Linked DNA regions of Homo sapiens: region 2 is linked to region 1. Evidence: promoter capture Hi-C in human tissues and cell types (Jung and others, 2019). All regions are on one chromosome and are shown on one strand. Each heading gives the region's core, a stretch centred on a gene start or on the middle of the fragment in contact. The rest is flanking DNA. Distances are from core to core; before and after follow the strand shown. Region 1 holds the start of TRAPPC9 (trafficking protein particle complex subunit 9). Region 2 overlaps AGO2 (argonaute RISC catalytic component 2).

Region 1 (3,626 bases), core at 942-3,441:
CCTCCATGCGGTCGTAACACCATGAGGTAGCCACGTTGGGCAGCTTGTGCGTTGTCAGGGAGACACTCTTCCTCAGCCCCTGGGCACCTCTGTTGAAAACTTCCTGGCTGTCTGGCAGGCTGGAAATCAGCTCTATTTGTTTTGCCCTGAAGATATGTTTTATTTATAACTCATTCTGACTCTGTAGAAAATAATTCAATAAAAACTCAATTGGTTTTCCACTAGCCCTGAGCAGGGATGAGGGATAGTATCTTATTTTATAACACATGTGATAATAAAACAGCCCTGGTCACATAGCCCAGAGCGGGTAAGTGCCTGCTGGCTGAAAGGAAAAATGCTGGCTCAGACCATTTCTCCCTTGCTGCTGTATGTGCTGAGAAAACCACTCCTGTCCTCTTTACTTTTCCATTTTAGGATTTTTTTTTTTTTTTTTTTTGAGATGGGCTCTCTCTGTCACCCAGGCTGGAGTGCAGTGGTGTGATCTTGGTTTACTGCAGCCCCCGCCTCCCGGGTTCAAGAGATTCTCCTGCCTCAGACTGCCTAGTAGCTGGGATTACAGGCATGTACCACCACGCTCAACTAATTTTTGTATTTTTAGTGGAGACTGGAGTTTCACCATGTTGCCCAGGATGATCTTGAACTCCTGACCTCAGGTGATCCACCCGCCTTGGCTTCCCGAAGTGCTGAGATTACAGGTGTGAGCCACCACACCCAGCCCTTTTTAGTGTTTGTTGTTGTTGTTGTTTGAGATAGAGTTTTGCAGTTGTTGCCCAGGCTGGAGTGCAATCGCATGATCTCGGCTCACTGAAACCTCTGTCTTCCAGGTTCAAGCGATTCTCCTGCCTCAGCCTGCTGAGTAGCTGGGATTACAGGCGCGCGCCACCACATCTGGCTAATTTTGTATTTTTAGTAGAGACGGGGTTTCACCATGTTGGCCAGGCTGGTCTTGAACTCCTAACCTCAAGTGATCCACCCGCCTCAGTCTCCCAAAGTGTTGGGATTACAGGTGTGAGCCATTTCTCCTGGCCAGGATTTTTTAATTGAAAAAGAAATACATGTACATGTTAAAAGATTCAAACAGAACATTAAACATACATAACGGAGAGCGGCTCTCTGTTTTCAATTTTCCCTGCGGATGCCACTGTTAATTCATGTGCTGGGCATCTTAAGTCTGTAAGCCTCCCCCATCTCCTGCTTTATTTTATTTTATTTTTGAACCCAGAGGGGTTTAAATCCTTAAATGGCTTCTGCCCGCACTTAGCAAGCTTGGCGCCTTGGCACTGAACTAACGACAGCTGTCCTAGCCCCTGTCGCCTCTTTGGAACCTTTTATGTGGATGGATTGTTGGGGCCCTCAAAGTCGGGAGTGCCATGGTGCCAGCTGGGGATCAAGACCGCGCGCCACACAGGGGGAAGCCGGCCCAGGCTGGGGCTCGCACCTCACGTGCCTCCCGGGCCCTGCGATCCTGGAGGCGCTCCCAGGCCGCGCGCGCCACGGTCACCCACCCACGTGGGGGGCACGACCGTGGGAGTCACGGGGGGTACCGTGAGGGTCACAGGGGGTGCCGCAGGGATCCACAGTGGGCTTCCGCGGGGCCTCCACCCCTGAGCTTCACAGAGGAAGTGAAATTTGAGCTGCGCGCCCTGAAGGACTGGTAAGCGGCGGGGACAGAACTGGGCCTCCTTCCAGCTGCGCCGCCCCAGGTGCAGAAGCTTTCCTCCTAGTCTCTGTTCTCTTGCTCCGGTCCCTCCCTCCCTCCTCGCTCCATCTCCCTCCATCTCCCTCCTTCCCTCCTCCTCTTCCTCCCTCCTTTCACCCCTCCTTTTTCCCTCCCTCCTCCCTCCTCCACCCTCTCCCTGTCCCCCGCTTCTCTCTCTCGCTGCCCCTCCCTCCTTCTTTCACCCCTCCTCCTCCTACTCTCCTCCTCCTCCCTCCCCGTCCCCGCTTCTCTCCCTCGCTCCTCCTCCCTCCTTCTTTCACCCCACCTTTTTCTCTCCCTCCTCCCTCCTCCTCCTCCCTCCCCATGTCCCCTCCCTCCCTGTCCCCTCTTCTCTCCCTCGCTCCTCCTTCCTCTTTTCTCCCTCGCTCCTACCCCCTTGCTTCCCTCGCGTCTCTTGCAAAACCCGGGACGGATCGGGGGCCCAGGCCTGGCCTCCGCGCACGCGCAGGAGCAGCGCCGGCTCGGCCGCCAGTAGGAAGCGCCAGCCCAGAGCCTGGGAAGTGGCCGCAGAGGCTGCTCGGCCCCGCTGCCCGCCAGGTCGTGGGCTCCCGCTCCGGGCCCGGGGCCACCGGCTGTGTAAGTGCAAAGCGGGGGGGCTCCCGGTCAGGCAATTCGGACCGGCTGCGGGGAGGGCTGCGCGGCTGGCCGTGGAGTCGGCGCGTCCCGCGGAGGGGCTCGCCCGGCCCTCACCTGTCCGGGCGGAGCCCGCCACACCTGTCCGGGTCCGCTGCCGGGCCGGGGTTCAGCGTGCACCTGCTCGAGGCGCCCTTGCTCCTGTTGGCGCTCTGCTTACATCTGTCCAAGGCCGTGTCCCACACCCGCTGAAGACTCGGCGGACACCTGTCCGGGACCCGGCCCACACCTGCTGCCCGGGCCGGCTCTGCTCTCCCGAGCTCGCGGCGGGGGTCCCCTTCCCCTCTGTGCCTCCGAGCTGTCTCCGCCTGGCTTCCCCTCCCGGGCCGTCCGCGGCGCTGGAGCCCCCCGCCCCTGGGCCTGGCTAAGCCCACTGGAGCCCGCGGGGTCTGGGACGCGCGGCTGGGGCCTGGGGCCCAGCACAGCCCACGCCCCCGGCGCTTTCCCCGCCCTGAGTTCCCGGACTTCTCCCCTAGCCCTTTCCCTCCTGTCTCCTGGATTCAAAGTGCCTGCGATCTAGCTGGGCGGCATCAGGCGGTGCTCTCTGGGATAAGCGCGCTGTCAACTCCAACTTATCCCAGGGAACCCTGGGGAGAGGAAGTCAGGCTACTGGCCTGTGGTCTTCTCCCTGTCAGCCCACCCCAATCCCCTCCACCCCTGCAGACCTTCCCAACGTGAATGTCTGTTAACCGAAAGTTTTCCCGTGTTAGGATGCGTTGTCTGTCTTCAAATGTTTCTATAGAGAGAGGAATTAAAACGCTGGAAGCAAGGCCCAGTTGAAAGGTATGGGGGAGTGACTTCCCTTCCATCCCTCACGGCCCCAGTTTAAACTGGTGACTGTCCCGTGTTTCTAAGGTAGTCATAGCTACCTATGACATCTTTATTTGTTAACCTGAAACAAAGCACCGGGTGGATGATGTTGGAGGCCCAGGAACATTGCCGTCCTAAAGATCTGGCTAGGTTTTGTTGTGTGTGTTTGTTCGTTTTTTTAATTGTGTGGAGGACTAGTAGTGTAGAGGGAAAAACAGTTGTCCGGAAACATGTAAACAATAAATGTTTCAGAAATCTAGTGTGTCAAAAATAACAGCTTCATTGAGCCTCGATTACCTGCCATAAAATCCACTGCTTTAAAGTGTACAATTCAGTGATTTTTCTTTTTTTTTTTTTTTTGAGACGGAGTCTCGCACTGTCGCCTGGGCTGGAGTGCAATGGCACGATCTTGGCTCACTGCACCCTCCGCCTCCTGGGTTCAAGCGATTCTCCTGCCTCAGCC
Region 2 (3,952 bases), core at 224-2,723, 63 kb before region 1:
TTTTTCATGTTTCTTTTTTTTTTTCCCCTCCAGTCTGAGATTTCTGTGTGGCTGATGGAGAGTGTGATTTGGGCGTAGGTCTTATTTGCAAACCTGCTCATGTTCTAAGCTTTCTTCAGGTAGTACCACCTGTCATCGCTTCTGCATATGATTTAAATGGATTTTTGTTTTTATAAAAGTATCATAAATTTAGAGATAAAATGGAGGGGACCCAGCTTTCTTTACAATGTGGATCTACCTCAGTTAAACAGTTGGGTGCTATTACTAAGTCTGTCAAATTAAATTGGAAAAAGTAACCAAACAGTGAGATACAACTCCACATGAAACTTGAAATTGTAATTTCCGTTTATTTAATGATATTTTTATTTATTTGTGCCTTTTATGTTGAACCCCAATGCATTGAAAAAATTCAGTATGAAACAGTACATATTTTATTTATATTACAGGTGGGAGAAAAGTCCAATTGGTCATGGAATTTGATAGACTTTTCCCCAGCCAACTGCTACAGTGTATTATAATCCCGACTGCCCCCCTGTGAAAAGAAAAAAAAAAATGTCCAAGAGCAAATTTAACATTTTACAAACAATAAAGTCCAAACTCCTCTATGCACATATTTATAGCTTATCACTTCATTTTCTGTGCCAGTGAAGGGGTGGCCAGAAAAAAAATCCCAAGTACCCTCATCATTGCTTTTCTAGCCATTCATGCCCCCTCTTCCTCTGGCACATTTTCTAAGAGTTTATTTCATAAGCAGCAAACGGACTGTTGTCGATTTCATCTCTCCTGACCTACCTGGTGGAGGTGCTAATGGCCATGGACAGAAAGGGGCGAGCCAGAGCTCGTGGCTTTGTGGAGGCAGAGGCCTGCATTCAGCAGCGGCCCTGTGTGCCTGTAAGTTAGGAAGGCTTTCTGACAGGTAAGAAAATGAGATAGGTTGATGACTTACCATGCTTTTATATTTGGCAGTTTACAATTCTAGACTTTTCCTACTATGGCGATCTTTTTTTACTTAATTCTTTGGAGGTAACAATATTTTGGAGTCTTAAGAATTTGATTTTATACCAATAAGAAATAAAAATTAGGGATCTTTCCTGTAGTATATAGTTTTACTATTTTAAAGAGATCTCTGAATTTTACAAGAGAACCAACATTCCTTAATGGCAGAACTTTGAAAGTTGATTTGGGAGGCTTTTTGCTGCAGGATCTCAAAAATAGAGAGAGAGATGATTCTACTTAAATGTTTTTAATTTTCTAACTTCCATCAGGTTGATACTTAAGCTCTATTTTGTAAAGAGTAAATCATCCTTTAGTATGCTGCATAAGATGATCAGCATTCTTGCACTTTCTCAGTAATAAGACGTGCCGGGCAATTGGCTCCCCAGGACGCATTGTGTTTTTAACCTAACGAGAGGACTTTGGGGCAGGTGATTAAATTTATATAGGTACCTCAAGAAAAAGAACCTGAATATGCTGCATTTTCTTTCTTTAGCTTTTACATGTAGCATTTTGTTTTGCTTTTGTTATTTTTGTTTTGATATATGCTTTTTGGACCCCAATAGACTGTTGAAAGAAATTTAAAAATTACTCTTGTAGGGATATAGTATCCTTAAAAAATAAAAATTTAAAAAAATTTAAAAAAATTGCTGCAATATCTGGCTCGAAGGTTGCCCTATATTAGAATAATACTTTAGCCAAATACACCTGAGGAGGCAGACACTGTGTTTATAAGCAGACAATAATGTTCTGAATCCTTCCTGTTCATGCTGCTTTCTTAATTCATTTCTCCATGTCATCAAGAGGTTGGATAACTTATTTCTAAGCTCAAGGTTAAAAATCATGTCACCTTTTTTTTTTTCCCCCAACACAGACCTCAGAAAAATTGCGATTGAGGAAGTAGCATGATCCTAAATGTGTTGCTGAAATCAGGCAGCCCGAGCCTCTGGTCTCTCCAGAGAGCCCGTCTTCACATTTCTCTATTCCTCAGCACTCACCCGAAACTGAACAGATGGGGAGTGGTCTTGATTGTCAAGATAAAACTGGTGAAGAAAGCTAAATGCTGAGAAACTGAGCATCTATTGTCGTGTTTAAGCTTAGCTGGGTCCTTTCTAGTTTGTTTTTACAGCTTACTAGGTGAAGTAGTTTGCACTATTTTTGCAATAAATTCATGGAAAACCTAACAGTTACTTGTTTTGTTTCTTACTGTGTGTATATAAACTAATACTAAAAGTTTGGCATAGTGTTTTTTCACCTCCTTACATAACCCCTAACATGCACAGAATGCTGTAAATCTGATAAAATATGATGTGAATGATATTTTATAAAGTTATTTTGTATGGTGTCAATTTTGTTTTGCCTCATAGTATGTCAGCAAAAAATTAAATAAAAGTCCTCCTATTTACAGCTGCCTCTTCCAAAAATCTTCAATTCCTCACCTACTTCTTTAGGCACTTCCTTCTGCACAGGTTATGATTCCAGCTCCCGAGGCAGAAGCGTGCCTTCAGGGATGGAAGTCCAGAGCCCTGTTCCACAAACAGAGGGCTGTTCCTTGAAGAATGTACTTGGCAGAGCTGGGCATTACCCGAGGATTTGGGTTTGGGGGATGAGAACCACAGGCATGAGTTGGACTAGTGGGAGCAGCCATGGTGTGTCGGATAGTTGGCTCTTTCTGCTCCTGCAGCATGAGAAAGGATCAAGAAGCCATTCAGCTAAGCCCGTCACAAGCAAAGTCCTGAGTTCCGTGTTGAGTGTGGGAACCTGAGCTGGCACCGTCCTGGTTCGCGGCCTGGCCAGCCACTTTGCTACTCTGTCCCGGCTAGGTTTACGCACATTGGCTACTCTCAAATCCCTGGTGGCCTCACCCTGACTGGGCTGTTTTTGACTTCTGCTGTCTATACTGAGATGACGACGTGCTGGGAAAGGAAAAGGGGGCTTTTCCTTTTTTTTTTTCTTTTTTGAGATGGAGTCTCACTTTGTCACCCAGGCTGGAGTACAGTGGTGCAATCTCAGCTTACTGCAACCTCTGCCTCCTGGGTTCAAGCGATTCTCCCACCTAAGCCTCCCGAGTAGCTGGGACTACGGGCCTGCACCACCACCATGCCCGGCTAACTTTTGTATTTTACTAGAGACAGGGTTTCATCATGTTGGCCAGGCTGATCTTGAACTCCTGACCTCAGGTGATCTGCCCCCCCTCGGCCTCCCAAAGTGCTGGGATGACAGGCGTGAGCCACCGTGCCCGGCCAGGCTTTTCCTTTTCTTAAGAAAGCCCCCAAATGGCAGCAGATCCCTAGGCTGTACATCACTGCTGAGGCAGGCCAAGATTTTGTCCTTATTTCAGGTTTCCAAATTTTAAGAACAATGTTACAGAAAAATGTGAAAATTCAGATAAAGAGCTATCTCTAGTCACGACACATAGGTAATTAACCTTAACATTCTGATCTATCTTGTTCCGCAGTCTTATTTTTTTAAACAAAAATCAAGATTTACTTTTTTCTTAATGTATCTAGAACCCTTTACTACTTCTTAGTATACAAAGCACCTCTGTGCCCACTGGCCCTGGGACATGGTAGTCAAAACCGGAAGAATACACAGAAACTCATCTACAGCAATATACTCACTTGATATGGCCTTTGTTATATTCTCGCTATTTCACCATCATTTACTGAATGGCCAGAAGCAGTAATGGTTTAACACTTGCAAGCGAGAGCAAAAGATTCATCTTCATAAAATCATTTTGATAATCTGACAGCAGTATGCAAGGTGGAAAGAGGAAAGGCTGTAGGCACTGTGAGGAAACCACTTAGGAAGCTACTGTAACAACCTGGCACCCGGTTCAAGGAGGAACTGAAAGGGTGAGTGTTCCCTGAATGATCGGATCTCAAACACTTATGGTGCCTTAAGAATGCTTCAGGCTGGGTGCAGTGATTCATGCCTGTAATCCCAGCACTTTCAGAGG

What was found. Contacts are between HindIII fragments. The study calls those that stand out against the background at their distance.
Region 2: a fragment that was not itself captured here is called in contact with the fragment with the promoter of TRAPPC9 in region 1 in 1 of the 25 tissues and cell types used here (hippocampus).

Annotation. Positions count from the first base shown.
Region 1 is chr8:140,456,309-140,459,934 of GRCh38, reverse strand. It overlaps TRAPPC9 (trafficking protein particle complex subunit 9), which reads left to right and starts at 2,191. Exons shown (of 23, transcript NM_001160372.4): 1 at 2,191-2,296. RefSeq lists silencers at 1,337-1,646, 1,767-2,006, 2,097-2,486, 2,597-2,646 and an enhancer at 1,419-1,937. The HindIII fragment of the contact is 3,662 bases long and covers 429-3,626 here.
Region 2 is chr8:140,518,604-140,522,555 of GRCh38, reverse strand. It overlaps AGO2 (argonaute RISC catalytic component 2), which reads left to right. Exons shown (of 19, transcript NM_012154.5): 19 at 1-2,400. Among named protein-coding and RNA genes, the nearest start is that of CHRAC1, 9.3 kb to the right of the region's middle. The HindIII fragment of the contact is 4,793 bases long and covers 1-3,869 here.